Linked DNA regions of Homo sapiens: region 2 is linked to region 1. Evidence: promoter capture Hi-C in 16 types of primary human blood cells and fetal thymus (Javierre and others, 2016). All regions are on one chromosome and are shown on one strand. The core of a region is centred on a gene start or on the middle of the fragment in contact, and the rest is flanking DNA. Distances in the headings are between cores, read along the strand shown.

Region 1 (6,421 bases), core at 1,159-3,658:
AATATACAGAGCAAGAAAAATTTCACACACAACAGTGACTGACAAATTGGGGAGGTGGAAGCAACAAAAAGGATTTATTAACTACCTGAAAATGATTTACATTTTAAGTTAAATTTCCACCACAACTTCTAATCTACACAAATTTCTCCTTTCTCTCATATGCTAAAACAAATACATTCAATCTCAATGTGCTGAAGTCTACAAATCATCATACAAAGATCTTACAAGTGACCAAAAATAGCTCAGATTAGTAGATAAAAATACCCCATAGTTACAATAAAATTACAAGTATCTCCAAGTACCCAAAAGCTAGAATCTTGATACTAATTTTAAAATAAAACTAATAAAACTTGTCTTATGTTTTTTGAAAAAGTTCTGCTTAACAAAAACACCAAAAATTAGCCTTTTAACCAATGCTTAATGCAATAAAGGACTCTGGAAATATGAATTTAGAAAATTTTTGTATAAGAGTTTTAACCCACAAACATGTTATTCAATTGTTTTTTCTTCAAATATAAGACTACATCAGTTTCTTACTGTTTTCATTATTTTTAAAAGAACATTTAGTATACTACTACTCAGTAAAGTGCCTCATGTGTTTGTCTTACTTTTTATTACCTTATAGAGAACAGTGTCTTAACTCCTGAATTTAATCACAAAAAGTGAAAAAAGATAGGAAAACGATTTGTTGAAAGCCACGTTTAGAACAGAAATAACAAATGTCAGATGAAAAAGGCTCCTCTAACAGAGAGTCTCCCGCACATAATCCTTTTTAAAACTAAACATCTATTATCAGCTCTTAATCTATAATGTGTGTCTTGCTTGATGAATTGGATTGAAAAAAATTAAATAAAACGTGTAACAAAAAAATGAACACTACAAACTATAACAGAAGTCTGCCTACGCAGTACCACCCTCGGACTCGGTAGAATACAGGACAGAAATACACTTGGTCCTGCAGTCATAAGTCAAAGTGGCAAAGAAAAAAACAGAAACAATACATTACATGAAATAGATATTTTCTAAATTATCAAAGGCTACAGACACTCATCCAAAGCATTCCTCAAATTTTTTCAATCGTTGCTTTTAGGCACACCTTGAGGTTTTTAAGTTTACTCTGGGGCAAGTCAAAAAGCTTACCTAAAATAAAGCACTTTAAGCAAGAATAAAATGATGCAGCTGGTCCTAGAACACACCGGAAATAAAAATCGTTGTCTTCAAAACCCGAAACAAGAAATGACATGCTTTTAGCAAATTTGACTTTCATGTGCAGGGGGGAGGGGGCACTGTTTTGACAATCCACTAACTACACTGTACATCTACTCCACCTGAAAGTTTAACGAAACTCTTCAAGTTGGGTCACCCAGGGACCGAACTTCTACTCTAAGAGACCCAATCCAGCCTACAAATCAAAGAACATCCCCAAATGGTTTACCCTTCTCCCGACCAAACCCTTTCCCCTGGGCGACAGAATGTTTTCAAGAACACCAACACACCCTCCTGTGATCTCTCTCCAAACACAGGACACAGGAAGAACCGAGGCCACTAGTCTCAGATAAGCGGGTGATGACTGCTGCCACTCCACGGGCGGCCCCTCTGCAGAATGGGGTCGGTCAGGACCGGCGCGCCGGGTAAAGAACAATACACGAGCCCAGCTGCAAACAACACAACTTCCCACGAGTCTGCGCGGCGGGTCTCGGCGGCGGAGAGGACTTCGGAATCCGCCACCGGGCAGGGGCTGGGGGAGGAATGGTGAGCAGGATGAGCGCTGAACGAGGACGGCGAGACCGCCAGCCTCGCTGCGGCTGCCTGCACCGGCGCCCGCCGAGCAGACTGGAGGGATGCAGCCACCAGCCTGGGTTCCACCGCTCTCACCAGGCGACGCGGATGCCCCGACTTCGCTTCTCTGGGAGGCGACCCCCGCCTCCCGGGGCCGCCAGGGCGGTGGGGGGCGGGGAAGGCCTCGCCGGAGGCTTGGGAGCCTCCTCGGCCCGCCACCGAAGGGAAAGCGGTCGGGGCGCGGGGGACAATAGGGAGCGGGGAGCGCGGCCCGCCAGAGTGGCGCCGCTGGCCGGCTGGGCTGACTGACGCGCACGCCGCGAGGCGCGACTGGGCTCCGCTCGGCCCGGCCGCCGCTCCGCCGTGGTCGCGGCGCCCCCGGCGCTCGCAGTCGTGCCTCACCTCCCATCCCCGCCGCCCAGGAGAGGAGCAGAATTAACACTCTCAGCAACACCATCTTCCGCTGCCGCTGCCGCCGCCGCCGCCTCCTCACGGGTTAACAGCAGCACATCGATCCGGAGGGAGAAGCTGAAGGGGCTTGGTCCGGAGCCTCCACGGGAAGCCGGGACCTCCCCTGGCAGGAGAAACGGCGAAGCACCTCCCTCTCGCTCCACTTCAGGGGCCGGCAACGCTCCTAGCTCCTCCAAAACAGGGACCTCCCTCCCCCTCGTTCGTTTCCTTCCTCCTTTCCCCGCTTTCCTTCCCTTGCTCGTTCCCTCTTCTCTCCCCCCCTCCTTCGAAACTCAGACCTCCGCCTCCTTCCTCACCACGTGACGCGCGGGCACCCAACTGGCACGCGGAGCCGCGCCCCTACCTCCCGCCCCTACCCGTCCCCCAGGCGCTTCAGGGGCGCGCGCATGCGCGCGGGGGACGGTTCCCGTGCTGCTAGGCCTGCCGCCGCTTCCTGTCCGCCGGCGGAGAGCTGGGATTGGGCTTGGGAGGCGGGGTTTGTCCTGGTCCCGCCCCGGGGCGGGAGCGCTCCTACGCGGAGATAGTGCTCCGCTACGTGTTAGAGCTGCTGAGGACCTTCCCTTGGGCTAAAATGGTCCGTGGAAGATGTAAGCAGGGCTGCTTTCGACTTCTTAACGTCACAAGTAACAGAGGTTTTTTTTCTTCTTTTTCTGCCTCTCTTGGTGCACCACAGCTACCAAGTAAACAAAAAGTCCCAACAAGCAGTAATTATAGCGGCAGCTGCCCCAGTGATGCGAACATAAATGCAAAGACCTTCAAGCAGCAGGAAAAAAAGACACCATGTCCGAGATGTAATTTTCCGAGCTCTTTACAAATTTATGTCACAGACTAAGGCTTTAGCCTTTGCAAAAGCATGCAACCTGAACCAGACTGTCTTGAATCTCCAGTCCAGAAAATGTCCTCTTTTCTCTCTGTCACATCTTTGAAGCGAATCCACGCACATCTTCTCCCCAACTTCTTAAAGCTTGTGTTTGTTTTCTCGTAACTCATTTTGATTCTTTAAACTTGGATGTCATGAACTAGAACTTTTTATGGCCATTTAATTAGATATTCTTCATCTATTTGGTATCGTGCTTGAGTAGGCCGAATTAGGGAGAGTGTGTGTGTGCGTGTGTGTGTGTGTGTATGTGTAAATTGTTTTGTTTTGCTTTCTAAAGACAAGGTCTCCGCTGTCTCGCCAGGCTGAAGTGCAGTGGTGTGATCATAGCTCACTGTAACCTCCAACTCAAGCCGAATTAGGGAGAGTGTGTGTGTGTGTGTGTGTGTGTAAATTGTTTTGTTTTGCTTTCTAAAGACAAGGTATCCGCTGTCTCGCCAGGCTGAAGTGCAGTGGTGTGATCATAGCTCACTGTAACCTCCAACTCAAGCGATCCTCCCGCCTCGGCCTCCCACAAGTGCTGGGATTACAGGCGTGAGCCACTGCGCTCGGCCTTAATGTTATTGATACTGTAATAAACTGGAATTCCTATACTGTTACCTGTATATTTTATACCATTTATTACCATTAACATAAGTGAAGAGAATTTTTTTTTTTTTGAGACGGAGTTTCGCTCTCGTTGCCCAGGCTGGGGTGCAATGGTGTGATCTCGACTCACCGCAACCTCTGCCTCCCAGGTTCAAGCGATTCTCCTGCCTCAGCCTCCCAAGTTGCTGAGATTACAGGCATGCACCACCACGCCCAGCAAATTTTTTGTATTTTTAATAGAGACGGGGTCTCACCATGTTGGTTAGGCTGGTCTCGAACTCCCAACCTCAGGTGATCCGCCCGCCAGCCTCCCAAAGTGCTGGGATTACAGGTGGGAGCCACCGAGCCTGGCCATAAGAGTCTTCTTTAATTCTCAGTTTGAGAAATGAATGATTCTAGTTTTGCTGCAACATTAATAGGCTCAAAAACGGACGTTTCAAAACCATCATAATTGTATCCATTTATAATGAGATACATGGAATCATCAAAGGATGGCAGAATCTCACGAATGGTTTTTTTTTCCTTCATTAAAATATTCAGTCTTAGGAAATAGTTACCTGCAGACATTACATCTCATATCACCTGTGCTTTTTACTAATCTCTTGTGGTAGTGCTGTCAACAAATGATATTTTTATTTTCCAGCTCTTAAACCACCTTATAGCATGTTTTCTGTTGCACAGTATTTTTATAATGAATTCCAGTGATTAGAGGCAAATGGCACTTTCCCTTAAAATTCAACTGGAAAAAACTCCAAAGCCATATTTTGCATTACTAAGATGATTACTGAAAATTACATTTATAAAGACTGTATTTTTTTTTTTAATTTTTAAAATGTATTTATTTTGGCCAGCCACGGGGCTCACAGCTGTAATCCCAGCACTTTGGGAGGCCAAGGTCCGCAGATCACTTGAGGTCAGGAGTTTGAGACCAGCCTGGCCGACATGGTGAAACTCCGTCTCTGCTAAAAATACAAAAATTAGCCAGGCGTGATGGCGGGCGCCTGTAGTCCCAGCTACTCGGGAGGCTGAGGCAGGAGAATGGCGTGAACCCGGGACGCAGAGCTTGCAGTGAGCCGAGGTCGCGCCACTGCACTCCAGCCTGAGCGACAGAGCTAGGAAAAAAAAAAAAGCCGGGCGTGGTGGCCTGTGCCTGTAATCCCAGCTATTCTGGAGGCTGAAGCAAGTAATCCCAGCTACTCAGGAGGCTAAGGCAGGAGAATCACTTGAACCTAGGAGGCGGAGGTTGCAGTGAGTCGAGATGGCGCCACTGCACTCCAGCCTGGGAGACAGGGCAAGACTCTGTCTCAAAAAAATTAATTAATTAATTAATTAAAAATAAAAATCAAATAGCCAGTGCAGTGGTATGCACTTGTAGTCCCAGGTACTCGGGAGGCCGAGATGGGAGGACTGTTTGAACCCTGGAGGTTGAGGTTGCATTGAGCTGTGATCACACCACTGCACTCCAGCCTGAGTAACACAGACAGACCTTGTCTCAAAAAAAAAGAAAAACTGTATTTTTTTTATTTGTCAAGCACGAATGGCATTACATACCAGCATGCACGAATGGCATTACATACCAGCATGATAATGAATGGTATTCCAGTGTTACAAGTTTGGGCTACTATTTTAACTTAATTCATTATTGATATTTTGCAAATGTATGGAAAACTGATGAAATATTAAAGTATAAGGTCTGCATCTACACTATCACAGACTGCCTGGGTTTCACTCCTAGCTCTGCCATCTATAAACCGTGTGACTTTTGCCAAGTTTTTTTGCCTTCTAACCTCAATATTTCTTTTCTTTTCTTTTCTTTTTTTTTTTTTTAGACAGGAACTCACTTTGTCACCCAGGCTGGGGTGCAGTGGTGCAACCACAGCTCACTGTAGCCTCAGCCTCCAGGGCTGAGGTGATCCTTCCCCTCAGCCTCCCAGGTAGCTGGGACTGCAGATGGGGGGGCCCCACGCCGGGCTAATTTGTTGTATTTTTTGTAGAGATGGGGTTTCACCATGTTGCTCAGGCTGGTTTCAGACTCCTGGGCTCAAGTGATCTGCCCACCTTGGCCCCCTCAAAGTGCCAGGATTACAGGTGTGAGCCACTGCACCTGGCCTCAATATTTCTTTTGTAAAATGACAATGAAAAAATATTTGCCTCAGCAGATTGTTTTGATGATTACATTTAAATTAGTTAATATCTGTTATTAGTTACTTTTAACTAATTTAACTAATAATTTTAACTAATTATCTTCTAATATTAGTTAATAGACCTGGAATATAATAATTGCTATGTAACTATTAAGTAAAAAAAATGTAACTATTATGGTCACTGCATGAACACTCAAACATCCACTTGAAAGCCGTAATTATTTTAATAGCATTATTTCCTCAGGAACAATACAGTTTTGATATTACCAGTATAATAAAAGTTATCCTCAAGTTTTAGTAATGGGAAATTCAGCTTTTAAGCAAATGCTCATATATTATACAGTGTAATAGACAAGTAATACTAGAGGAGAATGCTTGTTGCACAGACCGAAGGCCAATGCTGGTAAACATTTCAACAATTACATTGTGAATTTCCAAATTCTACTAAACTGCCTGCTGGATGTCCCACTGTCATGCCAAACTCAATATATTTAACTTCTTATCTCTGATACTGGCACTACCACTATCCCAGAAACCTGGAATCATTTTAGCCTGGGCACTG
Region 2 (6,456 bases), core at 1,237-3,736, 2.5 Mb before region 1:
GGAATTAACCACCCTTTAGGTAATTCGGTCTTGAACGGAAATCGCGAGTCAGGAGCTGGGTTGAGTGCTCCTCGGTCGGGCATTCAAAGCCCTCCAAATCTGGCCCCACTTTAACTATCCAATCATAGCGGCCTCCATCCCCCTGCAAGAACTCCCGGCTCCAATCAGGGAAGTCTCCATGCCATCCTCAACGCGCAGCAGATTCATTCTTCCTTCGTGCCTTTGCTCATGCTGTTCCCCTCCACCTCCCCACCCCACCCCACCCCCTTTCCAGGAATGCCCTCCCTCCTTTATACCGCTCCCAATTCCACCCAGGCTCTAAAGCATAGCTCAAGTCGCGGCTTGTCAGGGTCCCTGCAGCCAAGGCCACTGCCTGCCTCTGAAAGAAACGCATGTAGTACTCACAACATGGAGGCTCAGGCGTCAGCCACGAGCTCCTTCCTTTGGAGCCCGTTGAACACCCGCCCTCCCCCCGCAGACTCCGCACCATTCCCCCCCTTCCCATTCATACCTAAATGATAGCTTTGCCACAAATAAGTCAGTCTCCTTTAAGAGCAGAAGAATTGGCTTTTCTAGGTGGGGCTGATCAGGGAGGCTGCGTGGATGTAGAATACAACAGCCAAGGCCTCTGGCACCAAATGGAACAGCTGTTCAGCTCACACTGACCTTTCTTTGGGCCCGTGGGTGTTATGAGCCCTTCAGCTTTAACTTTTCTGATAGAGTGTCTATCAGGTTTCTACCTGTTAGATCCTCTGGCCACTTTCCTGCTGTGTGTGGACTTTGGGCTGTGGGGCTCTGCCACCTTTTAGACTCCTAGTGGATGGTGAATCTGATTGGCTTGGGTTGCCTGGCCTTTGAGTTCTCAGTTCCCTGCCTTGGCCTGAAACCCTCTTGCTTTTGTCCACTGTGCCCTCTCTCCTGGCCCACAGACTTAAGGCCCAGACTCACACTGAATGCTTGCACGTGGTGAGGGTTGAGGGTGGGGGTGCAGGGAGGAAGAACACCTGTGTGCAAAATAAGCCGCCCCCCCGCCCCCGGGGCCTCTTGGATTACGCTGTGCTCCAACTACCCATTGCACGAGTTGCATCACACAAATGAGCCCCCTTTTCCATACTCTAAGGTCTCTATTAGCTTAGCCACTTTAGGAAACTATAGGTGGTTTACGACATTCATTTTGCATACATATCTTCATGTGGGTGTGTAAAGACAGTATTTTTGTGGACCTAATTGATAGACATGGTGTGCACTAGACAGAAGCTTTGAAGGATAAAAATAGCTAATGTTTGTTGAACACTTTGTGTGCCAGACTAGCACTTTCCATACATTATCATAGTTATTCCTCCCCAAGAGTGTATAATGTAGGTATTATTAGTCTCCCTCTGTTACAGATGAAATGGAAGCTTAGGTTAATTAACATTCTTAAAATTACCCAATTAGTAAATGCAGGAGCCAAAATTTGAGTCCTGGAAGTTTAATTCCAGAGCCTGCAAGCTATGCTGAAACTGGAATTACGCTGAAAAATCTTGAATGTAGGTATATATATACGTGTGTGTGTGTATGCCCTATATCACGTTGAGGAAAGTTGCCAAGTTCCCCAAGGTTCTAATTTTTTGCCTTGCCAAGAGAGAATGATGGCTCCAAGTTGCAACACCCTGGGAGGGGGAGATCCTTAGGAAGTGGGAGAGTCATCGAGGGGGTAACGTATCTAAGGTCTGCCAAAGGCCTTAAGAAAAGGAAGCCGAGAACCAAGACGTTTTATAAAAAGTTCGCTACCGGGTGTCACACAGGCTGGCTTCCCAAGTGCAACTTCTGAGAGTTTTTAATGGGTTCCATAAAAGAGCCAGGTCACCCCAGCAGCCACTAGAGGGCTCACGAAGCTGCAGCCGCGGGCTGCCCTCTAGCGGCGGTGCTGACCGGAGTGTGGTGGTAAACCTTTTCCGGCCTTCCAGGACCTACAGGGAGTTGAAGGAGACCAGCAATGGGAGGGGTGGCAGAGAGTATCAGACTGAGGAGACCTTATTGCCAGAGTGAGATACCCTTTCAGGGAGGAAAGGGGCAGCCCTCACTACTCACTTAACATCTGGGAGTACAGTGGGTGTTTTGTTCCAGTCTTCAGAGAAGACTGTGAATAAAATCATGACATTAAGAAATCTGATGAAGTTACCCAAAATTTTGAGTGTGGACTCAAGCCAAACCCAGGGACCCTGAATAAAGGCAGGAGTGTAGCCATGTGCTTCTCATATTATGTGGGTTCCTTTGATTGTGCAACCCTGTACTGAGGACCCTCAAGGACCCAGAATCAATGTGGCTCATTTTCTCTGAGCATCATTTTGACTCTCTGGTAAATAAGGTAAGACATTGTAGTAAGCATGACTTTTTAAGATAACACACAAGTATTACCCAACCCTGAGGAGCCTAAGTTTATTCTCTACTGGGAAAGTGTACACCAGAGGAAAATTTTGAGGAACACTGATGTAGTGGGTTAGAAAAACCTGGCCTTGGAGTCAGAAGACCTGGGAATTCAAACCCTCTGTTTCGATCTCTATAAAAATGAAAATAATGATGTACATCAGAGGGTTGCTATAAGGAAAACATGAAAAGTTATAGGTAAACCAGGGAAGTGTTGTCCACATTTAGAGAGTATCTACAAGATGGATTGTCAGCACCTCAAAGGAAATGACTATTTTATTTATCCTAGTAGTCCCAGGACATAATTCCTGACTCCTGACTATTTAATAAATATTTGTGGAATTTAGTAGTTAACTAACCCTCATTTTCCTAGCCCAATCCATTATATTGTCTTGCTCTCTTGTGTCTGTAAACCTTGTCTCCTTTATGAAACTGTAAACATTTTATACTGTCCAGACTGTAGTATATACATTTATCATGCCTGATATATAGCAGTATTGGGCACGGAAAATATGAATAAATAAGACCTGGCCCCAACTTGAAGTAGTTTACATTTTTGTGAAGTAGAGCAACATATTAACATATATAAGATGATGAGTTATAAACATATCCACTAGTGTTGTGGAGTCATAATGGAGGGAGGGATTGGTCTTGCTCAGGGTAGAAGAACTGGAGAAGGCATCATGGCTGGCATTTTAATTGGGTCTTGTTGGATGAATAGGAGTTGAGTAGGCAGAGCAACAGAGGGAAGATGATTTCAGATAAAGGGAGTAACATGAGCACTGGTGTGAAGCCATGAAAGGGTACTGTTTGCTGAAGGAATAATGCATAGCACGGTGTTGACTCTGTGATCAGATCCTAAAGTAGTATAGGCGAGGGAAAAGAAGGAGAGAGAGACAAAAACCCACTTTACAAAATGTTACTTTGCATTATAGTTAGGATCGTTCTATCAAAGGAAGGCCTGAAAGTCGGTTTCATTATTGGTACATACTGATTAAGTGCTGAAAGTATACATTTCACTTCCACAAAGTATGGTGGTTTACCAGATATGGAAAAGGTAAAGTTCTACCCTGTTCTCCTTCTTTCCCAACTTGAATATAAAAATAAAATACTCCTCTCATCCTCTTTTCCCCTGATCATTACTTCCTCTGTCTTTTTCCATTGCAAGCTTTCTCCTCTAGAAGCTGAAAGTAGAGTTTAATGACCTACATGTTATTTAAGAGAACAAGGAAAGAAGGCTTTTCACCTCTCCCAATTCTTCCTTGATAGCAGAAAGTGATGGATAATTTCTTTCAGCTAAGCTGTTGTCTTTCAAAGTGCAAGTAGTCCTAGGAGGGCTTATATATATATAAGTTTCAATGCTGTAATGTGATTGAGCTTTCTTTCAGTCTTTAATAGCATTAGAGAGAAGAGGATGTGGGAGGGAGTGAAGAGGAGAAAAATAAAAGCAGCAGCAAGATTACAGAAGAGGGAAGTTGGGGGGTTCAGAACTAAGTTAATATTGGCAAATTTTGATACATGTTCTCAATACCAAGAGTGCTAATGTAAGTATGCTGTGAAAATGTGAATTCTTCTGTTAGAGCACAAATATGTCATTATGTCATTAAAACAATGTATAGCCCAGTGTTAAGGCTAAGTAGCCTAACTATTCAAATACTGTCAAGGCAGCAGACTGTTAACACTGTCACTACCTGGCTATGTGACCCTATCTGTACAAGTCATTCTTTCAAGTACCTTTGCTTATCTCTAAGGATTAGTGGGATAAAGTTCACATAATATACTCAGCTCTTCAAGTGAGTAGTATGATGAAACAAATGCTAGATCCCGCTTTGATTTCACTTAGAAATTTTCCACTGTTGGTACCATATACATGTTTATGTTGTAACTTTCAATTCTTTTACATTAAAGAAGGTTCAAGTTAATATCATCTACATACATTTTAAAGGAAGTGTTTACTTTAACTTGGGCCAAAAAGTCCCAAGTAGAAATTTGATATCTTAGAAATTCAGGAAAGGAGTGGCTGTGAACAGAAGCAGATAAAGAAAAACACTAAATTGTGACACTAAAAGTGTTTTAGTTATTTACTTAACACTAAAAGTGACAATGAAAAGACACCAGAGCCAATCCCACAGTGAGGAAGTCAGTGCCAGTGCAGTCTGAACAGGTGGGGCCTAACCAATAATTCACAAGGTCGATCATTCCTCCATTCCTTTCAAGGCACATTCGAGAACCTGCTATGTACAAGTTACTATATTGGGACCTTAGAAAGATTAAAAAATAAGTAGTAAAATATTGTTCTCATTTTCAAGAAGCTCATAATCTAATTGGAACACTACACATGTCAGCCCATACATATTTTTAAAAGTGAAATAAAAACACAAAAAACAAACAAAAGGTGTGTGACAGGATAATTTATTGAGCTATTTATTTGGGTTTTATGCTCCTTATATTTTCCCTCCCTTCCATTCCAAGCAGGCTTCAAGGGAACTTTGTGTTACTAGGCAGAAAGTTGTCTGACAAGAGCTCTCTCTTAGGCAACTCCAGGGGGCACCATTCACATTTTAAATGAAGCCTCCTGGAACAGGACTCCTTAGAATGCAGTGTCAATGTTATTTCTGGAATTGGACCCAGCAATCTGTCTTTCAAGTTTGTTGCTCCTTGAGGAGATGTTGCTAGGGGGTTAAAAAGGTAAGCACATCTGGGGAGAGAGAGAGAGGGAGGGAGGGAGGGAAGAAAGGAGGGAGGGAGGGAAGGAAGGAAGGGGCGCTGAGACAGGTGGATCACAAGGTCAGGAATTCAAGACCAGCCTGGCGAAGATGGTGAAACCCCGTTTCTACTAAAAATACAAAAATTAGCCGGGCATGATGGCAGGTGCCTGTAATCCCAGCTACTTGGGAGGCTGAGGCTAAGGCAGAGAATTGCTTGAATCAGGGAGGTGGAGGTTGCAGTGAGTCGAGATTGTGCCACTGCACTCCAGCCTGGGCGACACAGTGAGGATCTGTCTCAAAAAAAAAAAAAAAAAAAAAAAAAAGAGGAAAGAAGAAGCATCTATGGGCAGGTGGAATTACAGAAAAAAAAATTCCCATGAGCTGTAGAAAATCAAAGATTGGGGTTCCAGTAGTAAGAATAAGAGTACCCCAGGGAGATACTCTAACCTCATATGGATGCACAATGCCATTAGGGAGGCTGGATTCCCTTGCCTCTCTTGGCCCATAAGTGGAGGAATTGCCAGTGAGGATGTCAAAGTCCATCTTCCATTTTCTAGGCTCAACATAAGTCTTTCAAACCCTACTGCAGTACTAGGAAGAGAGGAAAGCCCAGTAAGAACTGAGATTGGATTTCCTTCTACTCCAGCAGAATTAAGGCTGAGATCACTTAAGTCTGTGGTAAATTTAATTTGATTTAAAGAATAGTGACATGTCTTGCACACCCAAATTTGTACTTGCAAATTTATACTTCCTAGTGGTGGATGCTATATAAAAAAGACACTGGTAGGTGAGATATATAAGATTAAAAACCAGTGAATGGCGTAGCTAATAACTGCTAAGGAAGTTTAGAGAAAGAGCAAAAGGAGCTAAAGTTAAAAGTGGCGTGGAGGACTTGGGATGGAGCTAGAGTGTGAGTAAAATGAAGGATTTATAAAGGTGGGAGAAAGAATGGAGACAAGTCCGAAGGGAAAGGCAGTGTGAGTAGAAGCAGGAAAACGAGCATGCAAATGACAAGACACACAGAAGACTGGTCTAATTGGAGTGAACAGCTGATGATAAAGGTTATATGGGGTACCAAATTCCGAGTGTATTCAAGCTAGTCTGAGGAGTTTGTGCTTCCATACTGTGTACAAAGCGAGGTTCTACGAGAGAACAAGTAGTAGGAGATATATATTTTATATTTGTATGTTTACATATTTTAAAGGAATTGGCTTATGTGATTGTGAGGCTGGCAAGTCTGAAATCTGTAGGGAAGGCCAAAATGCCTTGCATAGTGGATGCTGCAACCCACAGGTGAAATTTCTTCTTCCTTAGGGAAAAAAAAAAACAAAATAATTCA

The links. Contacts are between HindIII fragments. The CHiCAGO score rates a contact against its expected background, and 5 or more counts as called.
Region 2: a contact is called between a fragment that was not itself captured here and the fragment with the promoter of ADAM10 in region 1, in 1 of 17 cell types (fetal thymus). The highest score is 5.9, in fetal thymus.

Annotation. Positions count from the first base shown.
Region 1 is chr15:58,747,299-58,753,719 of GRCh38, forward strand. It overlaps ADAM10 (ADAM metallopeptidase domain 10), which reads right to left and starts at 2,409. Exons shown (of 16, transcript NM_001110.4): 1 at 2,182-2,409. The coding sequence starts at 2,236. RefSeq lists enhancers at 1,542-2,177, 1,629-1,758, 2,849-3,028 and silencers at 1,869-2,158, 2,489-2,778. The HindIII fragment of the contact is 2,079 bases long and covers 1,134-3,212 here.
Region 2 is chr15:56,244,329-56,250,784 of GRCh38, forward strand. LOC124903569 (laforin-like) reads right to left here and starts at 490. Exons shown (of 3, transcript XM_047433428.1): 1 at 406-490. The coding sequence starts at 490. It also overlaps a transcript of RFX7 not described here and a transcript of TEX9 not described here. RefSeq lists enhancers at 1-168, 169-814, 527-576, 815-1,460 and a silencer at 227-276. The HindIII fragment of the contact is 2,177 bases long and covers 1,399-3,575 here.